Regions from separate parts of the Homo sapiens genome. Here all the other regions are linked to region 1. Evidence: promoter capture Hi-C in 16 types of primary human blood cells and fetal thymus (Javierre and others, 2016). All regions are on one chromosome and are shown on one strand. Each heading gives the region's core, a stretch centred on a gene start or on the middle of the fragment in contact. The rest is flanking DNA. Distances are from core to core; before and after follow the strand shown.

Region 1 (3,103 bases), core at 365-2,864:
TACAAGAAATTTAGAGGCCAGCAAAATATGTTAAATGACACCACAGGGATTAGGACACATACACACACACACACATAAACACACACCCAACAGGACACACACATACAAAAACAAACAATCATAAGACCACAAATCTTACAAACGAATAAATTAAAAGGGGATGAAAGAAATTGCAAGAACCTTATAAGGCTTATCCTCCAATCACAGTAGTGTCAGAACCATATTCTGATTCAAACAATCTTAAAAAGGAAGAAGAAAAGAAGAAGGGAGGAAGAGAAATGGAAAAGAGAAAAAAGGAGGGAAGAGGAAAGGCGCAAAGGGGAGGTAAAGAGGAAAAAAATGGGGGCAAGGGAAGGGAAAGGAAATCATGGATTCTGTATTGGAACAGAATGGTGGAGCTACTTGATGAAAGGCATCAAGCTCCTGAAACCCTGCCTGGAGAAGAGCTGGTGGGTTAAAATGGCTTCCAGTACCCGGTATAACCCTCTCCCCTTGAGTGTGGACAGGACCTGTGAATTTAATGGCATAGTCTCTTTAATGATTCGGTTATATTATGTAAGACTTCATCATAGTAGACTCGGGAGATTCCCCCAAAGAGGCTTATACCTTCTTTAAAGGTACCCTATACCTTCTTTAACGGTATAAGCCACCTTGTTGTGAGAAGGCCACTGTAGCTAAGATCTCAGGGTGAAATCTAAAGACATGGGAACCCCCAGCCAACAGCCAGCAAGAAAGCAGGTAACCTCAGTCCTTTAGCTGCAAGAAACTGAATTCTTCCAACAACCTGAATGAGCATCCATGGTGTCCCATGAGGCCACAGCTCTGACACCTTGATTTCAGCTCGATGAGATGCTGAACAGAGAACTCACTTTACCCATGCCTGGGCTTCTGATCCACAGCAATTGTAAAATAATAAACTTGTAATGTTTTAAGCCACTATACCTGCCCCTTGACCAGGAATAAATTAAGTTACTGGAGTAGGAAATAAATTTCTATTGTCTTAAGCCACTGAAATTTAAGGGTGCACAGAAATTACCTGGGGGAATCTTATTAATAAACGCAGATTCTGATTCTACAAGTCTGGAGCAGGGATTGAAGGTGGAAGCTTCTTGCTGCTGTCAATGTACAGGTTTTACTGGCTGTGCTTAGATATGATGTCCCTTAATTTCTCCTCAACCTCCATTACCCAGCTCCCACCTTTGACGGGGACTCCTTAAATGCCTAACTAAGCACTCCTCTCTGTCTCAGACTTCAGGCCTTTCGCGGTTGTCCCTTTCCTCCGCCCCTCCCCACGCCCGGCCTTCCGGGCCAGCAGGGGGCCCGTGCGCCACGGCCTTGCGATCCCAGGAGGTTCCCCAGATTCCCGCGCCCCGAGCCCAGCACTCCTGGGCCACCTCCCTGTCCGGTCCGTTGAAGAAGACCTAGAACTCCCGCTAGACAGCTCCGCCCCAGGCTCTTCCCAAGGGACATCCCCGGCTCCTCACCGCGGACTCAGGACCGGTGGTGTCCAAAGACCCGCGAGCTGCGCGCCCCGCGGGGAGGGAGTGAAACAGAGACCTAGCGCAGAGCCCAGGTGGAAGTTCCAGGTTACCCCAGACCTGGCCTAGGACTCGGCGCTCTGAGCCACCGCAGCCAGTCTTTTATGCATCCGGCGGGAGTTTCGGTTTCCTTTCTCCTCTCAGAAGCACTTAGGTTTCAGTTTCCCTTCAGCACGAATTAGGCGAGGCACTTTCGTGGAAAGTTTAGCATCCTTCCCTTCAATCAGAATCTTAAGAAGGGGAGCATGGCGAGACGTTAGTTAAAAGGTATGAAGTTACAATAGCTAGGAAGAACCAGTTCTGGTATTCTATTCTGCAGTAGGGTGTGTATAGTTAACAATAATGCATATTTCAAAATAGCTAGAAGAGAGAATTTTGAATATTCTCATCACAAAGAAATAGTAAAGTTTTGAGGTAATAGATGGGCTAATTATCCTGATTTGATCATCACACAATGTATACATGTATTGAAACGTCACATTGTACCCCAAAAATATATACAATTATTATGCGTCAATTAAAAATAAAATGAAACTAAAAAAAACCTTAAAAGAGAGAGACAAAGGCAATAAAAATGGGCTTTGGAATTTGGGCATAAATATAGAGTAAATTGAGGCAGAAAAATTTGTAACATCTAAACAAGATAAAATCAAGAAGAGTTAGAATTTAGAAATTGATAAAATGTAAAAGACACTGTGGAATCTGAAACCCCACAATGAAATTGGAGATCTTGCTGCTTCTACTTGTATGCAAAAAGAAAAAAGAAAGTATGTAACAATACATGAACTTTGAGTTTCTGTTATGAGAAGCTGATGATTACTGTTCTGTATAAACTGTAATTGGTACTTTCATGGGCCAAGAATCAACATTAAAAAATAAATTGAAAATGCAGAATGGTCACATTTATTTGTGCCTCAAATTGATGAAATGTTCTCTTAATTTTTGCCTGTTGATACTTGCAGTGTGGGTTTCGATACTCATCTCCTTTCCTTTCAGTGCCCTCGTATGCTTGATTTCATTAATGCTATAAATATGCATTCATATATTGGAAATAGAAGAGGGTGTGGAGGAAAGACAGCAGTGAATTTGGGTAATCAGCATGATAAGAAGCCACAGGCTGCTTTGTCTACAAGGAAAGGAAAGAGCCAAGGTCCAGGCACTGCTCCACAGGGAACACAGAACAGAGAGAGTAGTGAATGATACTTTGTCTTGTGAAAAATTAGAGAGTCAAGTTGTTAAAAGAGGGGGATATGGGGAAGGAGGACATTTCTCACATCCATCAGACAATTACTTGTTTATTCATTTGTTTAGAAATTCACGTGTTTGTTAGTGATGAGATTAAGAAAGAAAATAAAAGACTCTAGAATTTAACACATGATTGGTCTTAAATCAGCCAATATTCCTGTCTCCTTCACTGTGATCTCTGATGTACCTGCCTGGGGTAGGCTGAATAATACCCTGCACTCCTCCCTCCAAAAGAGGCCAAAATCCTAATTCCTGGAACCTATGAATACAGTAACTTTCATAGCAAAAGTAACTTTGCAAAATAGATTAAATAAGAATCT
Region 2 (3,025 bases), core at 421-2,920, 1.3 Mb after region 1:
TTTCAGGTGACAAGTAGTATGGGGTCCCTATGCAAGTTCGAGCCAGCTCTACAGTACTAGAAGAAAAATAAAATTATTGGAGAAGTTAAAGACACAGTCATGTGCCACATTAATGTTGTTTTTGGTCTACAGCAGATCGCATATATGATGCTGGTCCCATAAGATTATAATGACACTGAAAAATTCCTATCACCTAGTGACACGGTGACTGACATACACTGTAGAGCAATTACTTTATTTTTTAATAAATTTAGTATAGCCGAAGTGTACAGTGTTTATAAACTCTACAGTAGCATACAGAAATGTGCTAGGTCTTCACATTCACTCACCACTCACTCACTCACAGAAAGCAACTTCCAGTCCAGCAAGCTCCATTCATGGTAAGTGTCCCATAAAGGTATATCATGTTTTATCTTTTATATTGTATCTTTTCTATGTTTAAACAAATATATACCATTGTGTTACAATTTCTTACAGTATTCAGTACAGAACATGCTGTACCGGTTTGTAGCCCAGAAACAATAGGCTACACCATACAGCCTGCCTGTGTAGCACACTCTATCATCTAGGTTTGTATAAGTACACTCTATAATATTCACCCACTGACAAAATCACCTAATGATGCCTTTCTCAGAACATGTCCCAATAAAGCAACATCCCAGTAAAGAATGTACTTAAAGATACCATAAATTATCACATATACATCATCATGGATTGAAGGTTCGCTGAAAACATTATATCAAAACAAAGTTTAAAATTCATGTTACCTATTAAGAACTCTAGCAATTCCAAAATCTCCAAGTTGTACTGTTCCATCTTTAGTTAAAAATATGTTCTGTAAAAGACAGGAAAAAAAAAAACCCTAGAAATATTGTTACAGTCCAGTTCTAAGTCAACATTTTTCATAAAATTTAAAATCCAGTTAAAAAAATTGTGCTAGAGTAACTGGATATTCACATACAAAAGAATAAATGAAGTCCCCTACCTCAAATCATAAACAAAAATTAATTCAAAATGGAGTCTAGATCTAAATATCAAAACTAAAATACAAAACTCCTAGAGAAAAACATAGGAATAAATCTTCATGCCATTGGGCTAGGGAATGGTTTCTTAGATATGACGTCAAAAGCACAAGCAAAAAAATTAAAAGGATAAATTGGACTATCAAAATTAAAAACTTTTGTGCATCAAAGGACACCATCAAGAAAAGAGACAATCCATAAAATGAGAGAAAATTTTTACAAATCATATATTTGAGAAAAAACTTTTATCAAGAAAAGGGCTTGCATAACTCAACAATAACAACAAAAAAAACCAAATAGTATGACTTAGAAGTAGGCAAAAGGGGCCAGGCGCAGTGGCTCACACCTGTAATCCCAGCACTTTGGAAGGCTAAGGCAGGCAGATCACTTGAGGTCAGGAGTTCAAGATCAGCCTGGCCAACATGGTGAAACCCCATCTCTACTAAAACTAAAAAAAATTGCCAGGCATGGTGGCAGGTGCCTGCAATCCCAGCTACTCGTTGGTCTGAGGCAGGAGAATCGCTTGAACCTGGGAGGCGGAGGTTGTGGTGAGCCTGAAATCACGCCACTGCACTCCAGCCTGGGCAAAAGAGCGAGACTCCGTCTCAAAAACAATAGATAGACAGACAGACAGACAGACAGACAGACAGGCAAAAGGCACATACTTCATAATACCCATTTATATAAAATGTCCAGAATAGGCCAATCCACACAGACAGAAAGATTAAGGGTTACCAGAGTCTAGGTGGAGAGGAATGGGAACTCACTGCTAATGGGTACGAGGTTCTTTTTGGAGTTATAAAAAATGTTCTGTAAGTTTCAGAGACTGGGAAGGAAAGTAATTTTTAGAGTATGGGAAGCAAGCAGGAGATCTAATACAGGATGCAGATGAATAGGATAAAAAGGAAGAGACAAGACAGATAATCTGATGCACACTAAATCAGGTTCAAAAATTTTTGGCCCAAAACAATGAAGGTTCCATGTCTTTATCCATTCAGAAGTTATCAGTGACAGAATAACATACCTGAGATTTAATGTCTCGATGAAGAATTTTTCTATCATGTACATGTTTCAGGGCCAAACATATCTGTACAAACCAGTCCAAAATCTAGGAAGAAAAATCAGATCTGTCAAGCCTCTCTTTGACCATTAAAAGAATTCAAGAATATTTAGGGATGAGAGGAACTAAATCCTTAAAAAGATATTTTAGGCTACAATTTCTTTTAACTTTGTAGGCACTGACATTAAATAGATATTCAAGTCAACACAAGCTCTGCACATACTAAATCCAAAATGTAAGAGATGTTACTGGGTCATCTCTTATAAATCAAAACAAACATGGAAAGTAACTTTATGAGTGAAAATGCAAATAATTTATATTTTATAATATTAAGACAAACAGGTGATTCTTCTTTGTTTTTAATACATCTTTTTTCTATAACGCCCCCCCCCCACTTCTTTAGGGATAGGGTCTTGCTCTATCACCCAGGCTGGAGTGCAGTCGTGTTATCATAGTTCACTTCAGCCTCAAACTCCTGGGTTTAAATGATCCTCCAGCCTCAGCCTCCGAGGGACTAGGACTATAGGTGCATGCCACCACGAGCAGCTAGTTTTTTATTTTTGTTTTTTTTACAGAGACAGTGTCCCACTATGTTGCCCAGGCTAGTGGTCTTGAACTCCTGGTCTCAGGAGTTCCTGAGATTCAAGTGTTCCTCCTGCCTTGGCCTCCCAAAGTACTGGGATTACAGGTACAAGCCACTGCATCTGACCTCTATAATGCTTTTTAAAAATATAAAAATCACAAAAGGAAAAAAATCAAGCTGGAAATTTGGAAGACATCTCTGACTTTTTTTCTCTTCCCACATTTATTATATATAAACACTCTTCTCTGGAGACGGCCACTTGGAAATAAAAAGGCTTAATTTCTATCTCATTGTTAACATCAAAACAATTCCAAGTACATGGCATTTTTAAACTAAAAAAAAATAATAAAAGAAAACATA
Region 3 (3,026 bases), core at 478-2,977, 1.4 Mb after region 1:
AGAAAAATATGAATTCAATGAAGATCTCACAAAAACAATAAAAGAACAACCTTGCATTTAACAGAAAAGGGTTTGAAAGTATAGTCATTAACAGGGGAGGATTAAAAACATGATTGTCTTGAAAGTTCTTTTTTGTCTTTGTTTTTACCAGCTGTTTTTGTATAAAAAACAAATACTAAAATGAAACTTCATAGGGGAGGGGTCTAGGACAAAAATATCTATGAAATTTAAACCTCAATCATATCTTCTTTATGGGGAAGAATTAAGAAAATCTCCTCTGAAATAAATCATAGCTTGTGGTAGAAAAATAAAAAAAGACTGATTAAATAATTTGCTAACAGCTATTATGTGTACGGATGCTCAGACTTTAGTCAAAACAAATTAGAAATACATTAACTAGGTTACAAATGCTACCCTTCCTCCTAGTCACAAAGTGGAAGAAGCTTCCTGTGATAACCAGAAAGGTAAATGGCAATATAAAATCTTAATATTTAAAATGCCATATTGTAATGGGTTTCATTAAAATGTATGTTTTAAGAAACTTTCCAGTCTATAGGACTAAAGAGTGCCTAGAACTTGATACAAATGTCACCCCTGCAGCTGAATCAAGATCAGAGAAGGAACTGAAGTAGGATTTAATGCCTAAGTACACTAAGGTACTTCATTACCAGTGCTAGTTTATTAAGGAATAGCAAGTTCTCCATTTAGCTTAGAACATTCAGATGAACCAGCATGGGCAGACAAATGGTGAGAGGCTGGAGGAGACTGGGGAGCCCTCATTCCAGTGACAAATTTTTTTTTTGTTTTTGTTTTTTCCCCAGAGGCCATAAGAACAAACTCCTATAGAATTCTCATTTACTCCAAACCAGAAATCTTCCAGCTTGTCATTAACTTACTCTGAAATCTATAGCTGAAAAACCAAAAGAATCCAACATTAACAAGTATTTGCTCCTTTACAAAATACTCCCCTCATATTGCAGACATTAGGAGAGATGCAAAAGGAAATGATAGGATTAATAAGGAAAAAGAAAGGAGCACTGCTTATATACACGTTTACTGGAGAAAATGTATGTATGTAAATTTCATTATGTACAAAGCAGCTTTCACTTAACTTTATGAAGTGATTAAATGGTAAACAAGATTAAAAGAGTGGTAAATACTGGCATGAGTTATTCAACCACAGCAGTGATATCACCAGTTGCGCAATTCAATCAGTGTACCAACCCAAAGGAGCCATCTGACCCCTGTTTCAGTGCCATCCTCTTTCAGTGCCATCCTCCTAACATCCCTAAGGGACAGCATCCAGTTCTTAAGATAGGACTAGGGAAGAGAAGGGTAAAGTAGAGATGGGAAGGAATCAAGAGGGGAAAAAAATATGCTATAGCAAAACAGAGACCAACAGGTTGAAATCATACTTTCTTATCTCTCTGTTTCATCTTCACGGTTCTCTGTTCAAGCGAGTACCCCAATTCTCTGGCTGCTTCTGTGAGTTTTTCATCTATGTTTTTCAAGAGATTGATTTTCTTTTTATCCGTTATTTCTCTAAGTTTTTTCGTCAAAAATAATCTGAAAAAGAAGTAAAAGTCCGCATTATGTGGCAGGCCACTGTACTAAGTACAAAGACCTTTCAAAGTTGAGCCAAGGTAAAAATGTCAAATTCCATACAAGAATAAGTCCACAGAATAATTACCAACACTTCTCTCAAAATCCCTAATAGTTTTCTTCAAATAAGAGAAAAGCAATATTCATAAAAAACTGCCAGTCAGAGAAAGAGCAAATACGATTCAAATTTATATTAGCACTCTAATGTCTACAATAAAGGTATAAGGGGTATTTGCAAAGCTGAGATTAGTCAAGGTTTAAACTGTATCACTTGATACTAAGATATGGCATACTACTTTGGAGAAGTCTGACCTAACAGAAAAAAAAGTAGACATCAAAAAAAAGTAGACATCAAAAAAATTTTTCAGGCAAGGCGCAGTGGCTCACGCCTGTAATCCCAGCACTTTGGGAGGCCAAGGCGGGCGGATCATGAGGTCAGGAGATCAAGACCATCCTGGCTAACAAGGTGAAACCCCGTCTCTACTAAAAATACAAAAAATTAGCCGGGCGTGATGGCGGGCGCCTGTAGTCCCAGCTACTTGGGAGGCTGAGGCAGGAGAACGGCGTGAACCCGGGAGGCAGAGCTTGCAGTGAACCGAGATCGCGCCACTGCACTCCAGCCTGGGCCACAGAGCAAGACTCCGTCTCAAAAAAATATATGTATATATTTTCAGGGACCAGGCATGGTGGTCCATGCCTGTAACCCCAGTACTTTTGGAAGCCGAGGTGGGCGGATCACTCAAGGTCAGGAGTTGGAGACCAACCTGGCCAACATAGTGAAACCCTGTCTCCACCAAAAATACAAAAATTAGCTGGGCATGGTGGCATGCACCTGTATTCACAGCTACCCGGGAGGCTGGGGTACGAGAACCACTTGAACCCGGGAGGTAGAGGTTGCAGCCATCCAGTCAGCCGAGATCGTGCCACTGCACTTCAGCCTAAGACTGCCTCAAAAAAAAAAACAAAAAACTGTCTTTTTTTCCGAGATGTTGTTTCATTCTTGTTGCCCAGGCTGGAGTGCAGTGGCAGGGTCTCAGCTCACTGCAACCTCCACCTCCCAGGTTCAAATGATTCTCCTGACTCAGCCTCCCGAGTAGCTGGGATTACAGGTACATGCCACCACGCCCAGCTAATTTTTGTATTTTTAGTGGAGACAGGGTTTCCTCATGTTGGTCAGGGTGGTCTCGAACTCCTGACCTCAGGTGATCCATCTGCCTTGGCCTCCCAAAGTGCTGGGATTACAGGCGTGAGCCACTGCCCCTGGCCTTTTTTTTTTTTTTTTTTTTTTTTTCATTTTTAAAGAGACAGGACACTATTATAACACTAAAGGTCGATAGATTTTTTTTTTAATGTTGAAGTTTGTGTTAAGAAAAATTTAGAAAACACAAAAGGAAAGCAAAGCTACTTTGTAAGCTTATACAAAA
Region 4 (2,883 bases), core at 155-2,654, 1.3 Mb after region 1:
GATCCAAATCACCACACAATCAGAAACAACAAAGGTGACATTACAACCAATCCCATGGAAATACAAAAGATCCCCAGAGACTATTATGAACACATCTGTAAACACGAACTAGAAAATCTAGAGGAAATGGGTAAATTCTGGAAACAGCCTCCCAAGATTAAATCAGGATGAAATTGAAATCCTGAACAGACCAATATCGAGTTCCAAAATGGAATCGGTAATAAAAAATCTACCAACCAGAAAAGCCCTGGACCAGATGTATTCATAGCTGAATTCTATCAGATGTACAAAGAAAGCTGGTACCAATTCTACTGAAACGACTCCAAAAAATGAGGAGGGGCTCCTCCTTAACTCATTCCAGCTTCACCCCGATACCAAAACCTGGCAAAGACACAATGAAAAAGGAAAAGTACAGGTCAATATCCCTGATGAACATAGATGTAAAAACCTTCAACAAAATATTAAGAGAGTGAGTTGTTAAAGAGAAGAGGGTATGATCCAGGCAGAGGGAGCAACAAAGGCCTTGGGGCAGGAGTCAGGAAAGAGCTTGATAGGACTGAGAGATTGAAAGATCAGTGAGTCTAGAGTACTTCAGGAAGTACATACTTCTCAAAGTAAGATATACAACTGGCCAACAAGCATGTGAAAAAATGCTCAACATCACTAATGATTAGCGAAATGGAAATCAAAACCACAGTGAGACACCATCTCACGCCAGTCAGAATGGCTATTAAAAGAAGCTGGGGCCAGGCGCGGTGGCTCAGGCCTGTAATACCAGCAATTTGGGAGGCCGAGGCGGGCGGATCACGAGGTCAGGAGATTGAGACCATGGTGAAACCCCGTCTCTACTAAAAACACAAAAAATTAGCCGGGCGCAGTGGCGGGCGCCTGTAGTCCCAGGTACTCGGGAGGCTGAGGCAGAAGAATGGCCTGAACCCAGGAGGCGGAGTTTGCAGTGAGCAGCGATCGCGCCACTGCACTCCAGCCTGGGTGACAGAGCGAGACTCCATCTCAAAAAAAAAAAAAAAAAAAAAAAAAAGTGCTGGGGAACTAGCAGGGGTTGGGCTGCATAGAACTTTTTCTGCTATATTAAAGAGTTTGTTTCTTAAGGGTAGCAGGAAATGATTAAGAGATGTTAACATGGAATGGAGAGAGATTATGAGCAAACTTACTTTTTGGAAAAAAAAACTGTGCTGGCTGCAGTGTCATCAGATTCGAAGGAAGCAAAATAATTGCACGTAGATAATATAGGAATTTATTAGGTAAACGAGGCCTTATTACTGGAAGTTTTCATAGTTTATCTCTGATTATTATTATTACTTTGTTTGAGACAGAGTCTCACTCTGTTTCCCAGGCTGGAGTGCAGTGGCATAATCTCAGCTCACTGCAACTGCCGCCTCTCTGGCTCAAGCGATTTTCATGCCTCAGGCTCCTTAGTAGCTGGGGTTACAGGCGGCTGCCACCACGCCCGGCTAATTTTTTATTTTTAATAGAGATGGGGTTCACCACCATGGCCAGGTGGGTCTTGAGCTCTTGACCTCAAGCGATCCAGCTGCCTCGGCCTCCCAAAGTGCTGGAACTACAGGCATGCGCCACCACACCCAGCTTATCTCTAATTTTTATAATTTTGTAAGAATATATTTACAAGCTACTGTGTATCTATTACAATGTTTTGAAATGATTATAAGTATATTTTTGGTGATTAAAATGGAAAAGGTGACTTTGCATTATTTTTTTTAAATATGTAAAATTTCATCTGCTGTGTTAGAGTCTAAATAGCCTTTTGTGCCCAAGCCTGGGAATTGGGTTTAGAACCTGAAAATATTTAACACTAGTGTTCAGATTTCCTTCTGTTATATGTCCTTTATGCTACTATAGAAATTTGAATATTTTATAGCAGTGCTGTTCAATAAAAGTGTTAGTGCTGCAAATGCAAGCCACATAGGTAATTTTTAATTTTTCAGTAGCCACATTAAAAAGGTAAAAAGAAAGTGGTGAGATTCATTTCAAATATATTTTATTTAACCCAATGGATCTAAAATATTTCAACATGTAATCAGTATAAAATTTCTAGTCAAATATTTGACATCCTTTTTAAATATTAAGTCTTAGAAATCTGGTAGGTATTTTACACTTAGAGCACATTTCAGTTTGGACCAGCCATGTTTCAATGGCTCGATAGCCGTATGTATGCTGGCTGCTGCATCAGTCAGTACAGCTCTATAGGTTTCTGGGTTAATACGTGGAATAGTTTTTTTTTTTTATCTTAAGTTATCAAATTTATAGAAATAGAAACCCATGCAGGCCTGGGTTTAATTGGTTTATTTGGAGCAGAGTTGCATGCTTGTGTTACAAAGAATGATCTGCAGGCTAGGTGTCTCAAAGGTATTATGAAATTAATTTTTTTAACGGAAATAGTTAAATTTCCAGTTACCACTTACGATTTTTGAGAGACTTTTAGGGATAAAATGGAGGAGATATATTGGAATTTGCTGATTGAAGTATTAACACATAAAAAGGTTTAATGATTTTACAGAGATTTCTTAGTGCTGTGTAGCCTCTAGCTAATGTTCACTGAAATGTTATCATATGTATTAAGCCCTTCTATTCTGTAAAGAAATAAAAACAGAGTGTCTGTGTTCTTCACAAAAATCTTAGCATACATGCTTTGATACATCAAAATTAAATGATTCTTAAGCTATTAATGTTTATGTTTTTAAAAGCCTTTTGGTAATTTTCTCAAAAGCCACATAATATTTAATTTGTTTGCCTCTATGGAACTGCAGATTTCTTAGTATGAACAACTACTTTCATACTTTCCTATTGTTTTAATTAATATACTCTAACAAATCTCATCTCAGTATAATATGCCATCTTTGGTAG
Region 5 (2,700 bases), core at 183-2,682, 1.4 Mb after region 1:
ATTTTCACATTTCCTGACTACAACAATAAAATCAAATGAATTGATGGCTTAAAAAAAAGAAATCTCAAATGTTTAGTCAATGAAGAACATCTATTGAATGAGTGAATGTTCATTATATATAGTGCATTTTCTGAGCTTTTTTGGAGGGGGAAGTTGCTCCCATGCTCTGAGAACTTTTAAGGATCGATACATTATTTTTAACATAATAATGAGAAAACATGAGCAGAGAACCCATTTCTGTCATTCCCATTCTCTATCCTCCTGCTCCCCCACCTCCCACCCCAGCCATCAAGCTAAGTAACTATTTTACACCTGGACGTAGCTATAGGAACAGGCTACTTTGAAGTCTCCTAGTGACATCCTTCAAGTCTGAATGTTCAAAGGCAGTTTAACAGGGAGGTTGACTTAATGAGATCATCAAGGAAATGTCCAGTCATCCTGAAGGGTATTTTGGATGGGCTTCCAGAATTTAAAGATTAAAGTTTTTTTAAGGTTTTTTTATTTTCACTGTTTATATTGCCACATTAATTTCCATTATAAAACCAGTAACCATAGTTTTGTTTTAATTAGCAATCTAATTATTTTCATGTATCCTCATTATGAGAATTTATGTCCATCACTTTGCTTGATGTGATAACAGTGACATGCTAAATGAGAAACAATTGTTATTTAGAAAAAAATGCACAAAGTGAAAGTCCTTTTAATCCCTAATCATAAATACATTTTATTAGCTTACTTTAAGAAGTGGCAGTCACAGCTCCTGAACATTAGGGAGTGTTTCTTTTGGTCAGCATTATTTATTTAGTGCACATTGCCTTTAATTTTAATTTGAAATTATAGTAAAATCCACGGGAGTTTTTAAGTCTCCTCACAGCCTTTTGCTACCTTTTCACCAAGGTAGATCCAGATGATAACTGCTGTGTTGTGACATCATAGAAATTAGAAAAATATTTTCCTCTGAGGAAAGAACATTGTAAATGAAACTCTACATATCAGAGGTCTATAGCTATGTATCAATATTAAGTTTCTTTTGTACTTTGCTTTGTAGTCATCTTCATTCCAAACTTTCATAATTATTATTTTTACTTTAAAAAGAAAAATAACCCACCAATATTGAAGATTAGTATTGTGTCACTTTTGAAAGTCAGTAGAATTTATGCAAAAGGAACCTGGAACTTTAAATCATTTTGTTTTTATTTTCTAAAGTTCATGAGACTCATTCTTATGGTTCATGTTTTTATTTTTTCTCTCATTCTTTATCATTATGATTGGAAACTCTTTTAATTTAATTTCTCACACAGTTATTAGCATAATAATCTGTTTCAGGATTGTCTTGGGGATCATCACAAAGAAGAACATATTAGAGCATCTCGAGCAACTAAAGCAGCACGTCGAACCCTTGGTGATTAGATATATCAGATCTCCTCATTAGACACCTTAGAAGTCAGGAAGCATGAAACTTGTGAACTGTTGAGTTCTGTCTTTCCCAGATATCTGCTGAACAAAAATATCCTACTATGCTGCCAATTACATTTGTATCTGATAAAATGTGTCTGTAAGATAAATTTAGATATGTGTAAAATCCCATTTATAGAAAGTAAGCAAAAGTTAACATCTCTCATCAAATCATTCATTACAATTTCAGAACTGTAAACAGTTTGGTAGTGGAATAAGTGAATATTATTGGACATTCTTAAAGTGAATATGGCAAATCTGTCTACCTCAGTGGATACACCGGTCTCAGAAGACACCTGACTGGTTAAAAATGTCTGACCCATCCCCGCAAGCCCTTTTTTTTTTTTTTAAATGTTTCCCGATCTTGTGGTAGTCTTATGGTAAATCTAAGCTCCTAAAGGATTTTAAAGGAGCTTAGCAATTAGAACTGCTTACAGTTAAATGGATTTTTTAATGGGCACACTAACTAGAGTGTAATGTGTATATTATTTGTGATCATAGCATTAGTTCTTTTTCTGCTATACCCTGCATATCTTCAAAGTCACAGTGTGTGTCCTGCCATCTCATTAGTGAATTGTACCTAGATTATGTGTGTGCCCCTTTTGTATGATGTTTCTGGAACGCTATAAGCAGCTTTTAGAGTCAAATGCATTCATTTTAACTGGCTTTATGTCCTAGTGGTTTCATGACTACAAATTTGAATTATCTTACTGCATAACATAAAAAATGTCTGGCTTTAGCAATTAATGCCCGAAATTATTTTGCCCTGCAATTGTCATACCTGTATGAAACCTGTCCCAGTTTGCTTAAGTGCACAACTGATTATGTATTCCTGTGTGTATGCTAATATTTCACAAGTGTTTCATGCATCCTTTTTTAAAAAACTACTAACCAGAATATTATCGTAGCTACTCATTCATTCTGCTTTCTGCTTCACCTATAATAATCTTTTAGGACTGCCTTCTGATTTTTCACCTATCTTTTAATGTAAGCATTAACAACTAAGACTTTCATAAAAGCACTGTATCTTAACTTTCCTGGCCTAAATCAAAAAAAGGAAAACATTGATAAGTGTCCTAGAAACTTGGATTCTTTTATAGATTTGTTCTTGGGGCTCTGATGTTTGGGATTGACGTTCTGTGCTGACCATTTTATATGCATTTTATCTTAATAGTATGTGCTTTCATGAAGATTCTGATACAAGTGGGCAATCCTTAAATTATCTTTGAAAAATTGGTTAATTTT
Region 6 (2,700 bases), core at 56-2,555, 1.4 Mb after region 1:
CAGTGAGCCGAGATCCCACCACTGCACTCCAGCCTGGGCAACAGAGCAAGACTCTGTCTCAAAAAAAAAAAAAAAAAGAGAATATTTTTACAAGTTTTTTCTTTTTTTTTCAATCTTTGTGCACTTTGAAGGCCATAGATGTCATAGCTAGCTTCTTAAGCATTTCTTTCTGCCTTTGTTATGAGAGCTGCTGAAAATTAAAGACAAGACAAGATGCCACTTAGGATCCCAGGACTTGAGAGTGTAGCCAGACATTCAGCATTAACGTGTATTCAGGGCAGAATAACCACATAGAGCAGCACATGTGTAAGGAATTACAGGCTTATCCAATTGAATTTCTAAGGTTCTAAATGATGGAAGTCATTCACTCTGGCAGTCAGGATTGAGCTGAGTCCTGTGACTCACGCTGTTGGCCAACCCTGGAGGATAAATCAGCTTTGAGAAGGCCCAGAGCCCCCATAGCCTTATGATTCTGATTCCCAAATAGGCTGTAAAATAGGACTTCTTTTAGGGGCTATTCATAGCAGGGGGACCTAATTTGGGAGATATGGGTGATTGTATTGCAGAAGAAACAGATTTGGGAAGGATAAACTTTTTTTCTAATTTGCTGTATAAAAGTTAGCAGAAGCTTCAGGCAGAGCTGATCCTAGACAATTGTTATTGATGGGCTGCAAATGAGCTGTAGCATTAATCTTTGACACTGCACTCTTGGCCTTACCTTTGGCCACTTTGACTCTGGCAAATTATACAGCTAAATGGTGGTGAAACTGGTCTGCCCAATTATGCTTAATCCAGATCAGTTACTCTGGGACCATGTAACCCTTAATTAGCACTAGTTGGATGATCCAAACACATCTTTGAAAGGCCCCAGAGGTTCTCCAGTCTTCATATTTACAGTGGATGAAAATTCCAGCTGATTCGCCAATTCTTTTCCTACCACAATTTCTTAGAATCTAGCTCTGAGCACAAACTGGCACATAATGGGTGCTCAGTAAATATTAATTGGCTTATCGACCTCTTTAATGAATAGCAGTCACCATCATTAAATAGTTACTTGCCCATCCTTTCATCCATTCAGTTATTTGTTCATTCAGAACATTTATTAAGTCCCAATTATGTGTCAGAACTATGTTAGGCACTGAAAAGACCAAGATGACACAGTTGCTATGTTCCAGGAGCTTATAGTGTACTGAGGAGTCCTATAAATGTACAGTCAGTATTCCTGCTAGTCACATAGAAGCAGTGTAAGAATTATGTAAGTCTTTATCACACTCCAACCTTCCAGACACATTGCTCCAGAGTAGTCTCTTTAAAAGAATTGATCTAATCATTTTACTCTGTGACTATCACAGAGTTGATCAGAGCAAAAATTCTGAACGACTAGTGTTACCACCAGGAAATAAGAAGTGACACAACAAAGGGCGATATGGTAGAGAGCAAGCTCAGGTAATATGAGGAGTTTGCGAGGTGATGTTACAAGGGAACATCAAAAGCAGCAACTGAGATCAAGATTGTGGAAAATAGCCAAGGAAACAGGAGCTGGGAATGTAGGGAGCAGTTACTAGAAGGATCCAACAGGATATTACTATTGAGTAATTGCCTTGTATAAGGTCATTCTCCTCACCTTCCAAGTTATGTGTTTAATTTCTGAATATAAAGTTATACTTAATTTTAGGGCTGGGTGCAGTGGGTTATTCCTGTAATCCCAGCACTTTGGGAGGCTGAGGTGGGAGGATCACTTAAATCCAGGAGTTTGAGACCAGTCTGGGCAACATAGCAAGACCCTGTCTCTATAAAAAGTAGTAATAATTTTAGAAAATTTGAATACTATCTAAAAATAAAAAGAAAATTAATTATATTATGCCACCTAGATGTAGCCTCAGACAATATTTGGTATATTCAGTATTTTTCTACATGTATCTTATTATAGTTTGTTAAATGAAATAATGCTGCACATAAAATTTGGTAATAGGCCTTAAAAAGTAAGCTTAATAACAAATAAACATTGTAAAAATGCTTCATCAATATTTTAATGGCTACATAAATATGCCATTGGACAAATGTTTGATAAAGTAACTGTTCTCGTAGTTATAAGTTTTTACTGTGTGTCATAACTTTTTATTGCTATGTATAACCCTGTGGTCAACATTTTTGTACATAAGGTTTTAAAAAATATTTTGGAATATTACCTTAGTTTAAATTCTTAGAGGAACTGCTGGCTTCACAGACAGGAATAAACTTAGTGTCATAATCCATATTCCCAAATTGCTTTGTAAACAAGGCAGTCTGAAATTGAACAAAACAATGTACCACATTGTGACTACAGTTAAGAATATTGTATTGCATATTTAAAATTTGCTAGGAGGGCAGATCTTACATGTTCTAACCACATACACACACAAAGGTACTGTGTGAGGTGATGCTATGTTAATTAGCTTGATTATGGTGATAATTTCACAAAAATATATGTATATTAAAACATCAAGTTGTACACCTTAACTATATAGAATTTTTATTTGTCAATTATATCTCAATAAGGTGGGGGTGGGGAAGGAGAGTAAAATAAAAACGTTTTAAAATAAATAAATAAACAGAGACAAAATAAAAAGAGCATATGTTATTTTCCCATTGGCATGAGTTAAGGGCACTGCTGCTTGGGAATAACCTACACATGGTAGGATAAAAAAGTCAGGGCTTATC
Region 7 (2,700 bases), core at 34-2,533, 1.3 Mb after region 1:
GCAGCTCAAATAGGTTCTTTATCCCTTGATGAGACTTATTCTATTAATATAAGTCATTGTTATTTGAAAGTAACATTGTGTATGTGTAGTAGAGATAAGTCAGTTATTAGGCTTTCGTGACTGTACTGTATTACCTCAAACATACTGTAGTATCCTAGTGTCTATGCGTAAGATGTTATTTTTTGTCCATAATTTATGACCTGTTGTAGCCATGGGTCAACACAATGGAATTGATGGAGACAGGCAGCTAACAAATCGAAAAAACTGAATCAGCTTCCCTGTGAGGAAGAACAAAACTATAATGATTAAAATTGATCTTCAGCCTGATAGTGAAGAGGCAGATAAAGTATAAAATTGTGAAGGATATCAATAAAGTAAACATGGATCTGTTTAGTAAATCCCTGAGTGCTATAGCCAAGGATTACCTTTGTTGAGTAAATTGAATTTAATACTACTTTTCAAGGCGAGATGGTAAATGGTGAAGCTTCCTATTTAAGTAAATAATGTCAAGTCTGGAAGTATAAGTAGATTCAAATTAGAATTAGTTTGATATACTATTGATAGATTAGAAATTAAGATGACATTTCAGAAATAGCCATCTTTAGGGGTAGATTTCCTATATAGAAACAATCAAGCTCTCTCAAAATGTCTCTTCCTTTTTTATCAGGAAAAAAGACTTGGCTTATCTGGACTGTTAGTTTTACACTTTTTCTTCTTAATTTGTTCAAGATGTTTAAGTAGTTTTAGAGGTCAAATTTCTTTCTTCTACCAACCCTTTATAATGGATTTGATCTTTTGGGCCTGAGCCTCCATTTACTCCATGAGGGGCCTTTAACAATTATTTAAATATTTAATTGTTTCATTCAGAGTGAGCATATATGTGTGTGTGTGTGTGTGTGTGTGTATATATATGTGTGTGTGTGCGTATATGTGTATATATATATATACATATACACACACATATGGCACTCCTAGGTGCTGTGGAGAATTATAAAAATAGTAATATTAATAATAGTTAATATTTATTAGAATTTCCTGTTAGCTGGATACTGTCCTAAGTGGGTTTTTTTGTTGTTGTTGTTGTTGTTGTTGTTGTTGTTTTCTTAAGAGAGAGGTATCACTTTTTCACCCAGGCTGGAGTGCAGTGGAGTGATTATAGCAAATGCAGCCTTGAACTACTGGGCTTAGATCCTCCGTCTCACCCTCCTTGGTACCTGGGACTGCAGGCTTGCAACACCTTGCCTGGCTAATTTAAAAAACAAAATTTTTTTTTTTTTTAGGGAGAGTCTCACTATGTTGTCCAGGCTGGTCTCCAACTCCTGGGCTCAAGCAACCCTCCTGCCTTGGCCTCCCAAGTAGCTGAGATTACAGGTGCGAGCCACTGTGCCTGGCTTGTTCTAAGTGCTTTATGTGTATGAAATTATTTAAATCCTCATCACAAGTTTATGAAGTAGGTACTGTTATAATCCCCATTTTCTAGTTGACAAGACTGAGGTAAGGAATTGTTAAGGAAAAGTCAGAATTCCATCCAGATATTTGGCTCATACTTTAATCATGAGGCTAAACTGCTTCTCTCTACACGTATCTTCATAGTAACTTGTGTTTTAAGTCTGGTAGAAGCATAAGAAGTTTAAACACAGACAGAATCCTGTGGAAGTTAGTAAATTTCTAGTGAACGATAGAAATGATAGAAATCTCTTCTTCCCCCAAAGTCCCAAGAACAGATTAGTCTGCTTTTGACAAGTGTTATCAAAGTAGACTGTTCTCACATACACAGGGGACTCAATAGGGCATTCCTGGTGGATATAATAAAATGAGTAAATGCGATAACAGGAGGAAATGCCTAGTGTGTTGCTCTTGGATTAGTTTTGATACAACAAAGGCAGCTTTGTTGTGAGTCAGTAGAGAGGGTAGTGTAGAAAGGTGGAAGTTGGAAGAGTGGCAGATCCTAGAGGACTAATGATGGGCTTAAACCACAAAAAGTGTCGCTTTGCCATTGAAATAAAAGTTTGGGGTCTTATTTTTTCAAGTTTCTCCCTGAAATTATTTCTTGACATTCATTAGCTCAGCAGTGTATCTAAATAAAGCTTTTTTGGGTTTCTATTATAATAGAGGTTTGTTCCTTTTTCTTCCCTTTGAAAAGTATCATTTTTTGCACATTATTTGAAAATCCAGGTGTTATATGATATTCTTATTGCCAGAGGGACATTCTGCAGGCTCTTTGTAAAATGATTTTAGGATTCAGATACTTATTATATTTTTATTGGCCCTAATATTTTATCCAACTAGAAAATTAAACCTCTTCTTAAAAATTAATCCATCTAAGTGTCTGTAAATTAAAGGAACAACTAAAGATTCTTTATTTGGTGTCAGAAACTCCTTGTTTCTACAACAGTAGTATAAAACAAAGCCTGTTTTTAAATGTACTTTTCCCACAGTATCTGAATTTCAAATCTTCAATAAAATCTGGTTCATATTACTACCTCTAGCTTGATTTTCTAAAAATAGCTGACACTTTAGTATGGTTAATTTTATGCCATCTCATGGCTTGTCAGAAATGCTTTGTATCAAGATTTCCGAGTGTGAACAGATTTCCTGCCGCATTGATTAAGTTTGTAATTTTGGCTATTTTCCCAGCATCGAGGTTTCTGCTTTGCGTTTATGCAGGAGACTGGTAGTTTAAATTGAACTTTAAGGTTT

Evidence for each region. Contacts are between HindIII fragments. The CHiCAGO score rates a contact against its expected background, and 5 or more counts as called.
Region 2: a fragment that was not itself captured here is called in contact with the fragment with the promoter of DDX60 in region 1 in 7 of 17 cell types (total CD4 T cells, naive CD4 T cells, non-activated CD4 T cells and 4 more); the score reaches 8.0 in total CD4 T cells.
Region 3: a contact is called between a fragment that was not itself captured here and the fragment with the promoter of DDX60 in region 1, in 1 of 17 cell types (non-activated CD4 T cells). The highest score is 5.2, in non-activated CD4 T cells.
Region 4: a contact is called between a fragment that was not itself captured here and the fragment with the promoter of DDX60 in region 1, in 7 of 17 cell types (naive CD8 T cells, activated CD4 T cells, naive CD4 T cells and 4 more). The highest score is 12.6, in naive CD8 T cells.
Region 5: a fragment that was not itself captured here is called in contact with the fragment with the promoter of DDX60 in region 1 in 4 of 17 cell types (total CD4 T cells, naive CD4 T cells, naive CD8 T cells and 1 more); the score reaches 7.7 in total CD4 T cells.
Region 6: a fragment that was not itself captured here is called in contact with the fragment with the promoter of DDX60 in region 1 in 4 of 17 cell types (activated CD4 T cells, total CD8 T cells, non-activated CD4 T cells and 1 more); the score reaches 9.8 in activated CD4 T cells.
Region 7: a contact is called between a fragment that was not itself captured here and the fragment with the promoter of DDX60 in region 1, in 4 of 17 cell types (total CD4 T cells, activated CD4 T cells, naive CD4 T cells and 1 more). The highest score is 7.7, in total CD4 T cells.

The regions. Positions count from the first base shown.
Region 1 is chr4:168,317,138-168,320,240 of GRCh38, forward strand. DDX60 (DExD/H-box helicase 60) reads right to left here and starts at 1,615. Exons shown (of 38, transcript NM_017631.6): 1 at 1,485-1,615. RefSeq lists an enhancer at 1,549-1,878. The HindIII fragment of the contact is 2,588 bases long and covers 1,104-3,103 here.
Region 2 is chr4:169,588,680-169,591,704 of GRCh38, forward strand. NEK1 (NIMA related kinase 1) reads right to left here. Exons shown (of 36, transcript NM_001199397.3): 6 at 2,047-2,130; 7 at 768-835; 8 at 1-56. Among named protein-coding and RNA genes, the nearest start is that of NEK1, 22 kb to the right of the region's middle. The HindIII fragment of the contact is 5,060 bases long and covers 1-3,025 here.
Region 3 is chr4:169,740,542-169,743,567 of GRCh38, forward strand. HPF1 (histone PARylation factor 1) reads right to left here. Exons shown (of 8, transcript NM_017867.3): 5 at 1,416-1,566. Among named protein-coding and RNA genes, the nearest start is that of HPF1, 16 kb to the right of the region's middle. The HindIII fragment of the contact is 2,572 bases long and covers 442-3,013 here.
Region 4 is chr4:169,631,704-169,634,586 of GRCh38, forward strand. The region is part of intron 1 of CLCN3 (chloride voltage-gated channel 3); the gene reads left to right. Among named protein-coding and RNA genes, the nearest start is that of CLCN3, 13 kb to the left of the region's middle. The HindIII fragment of the contact is 6,464 bases long and covers 1-2,883 here.
Region 5 is chr4:169,716,466-169,719,165 of GRCh38, forward strand. All of the region lies in intron 12 of CLCN3 (chloride voltage-gated channel 3), which reads left to right. Among named protein-coding and RNA genes, the nearest start is that of HPF1, 40 kb to the right of the region's middle. The HindIII fragment of the contact is 5,857 bases long and covers 1-2,700 here.
Region 6 is chr4:169,765,595-169,768,294 of GRCh38, forward strand. No RefSeq gene overlaps it. Among named protein-coding and RNA genes, the nearest start is that of HPF1, 9.0 kb to the left of the region's middle. The HindIII fragment of the contact is 1,359 bases long and covers 627-1,985 here.
Region 7 is chr4:169,662,247-169,664,946 of GRCh38, forward strand. The region is part of intron 2 of CLCN3 (chloride voltage-gated channel 3); the gene reads left to right. Among named protein-coding and RNA genes, the nearest start is that of CLCN3, 43 kb to the left of the region's middle. RefSeq lists a silencer at 1,692-1,986. The HindIII fragment of the contact is 1,603 bases long and covers 483-2,085 here.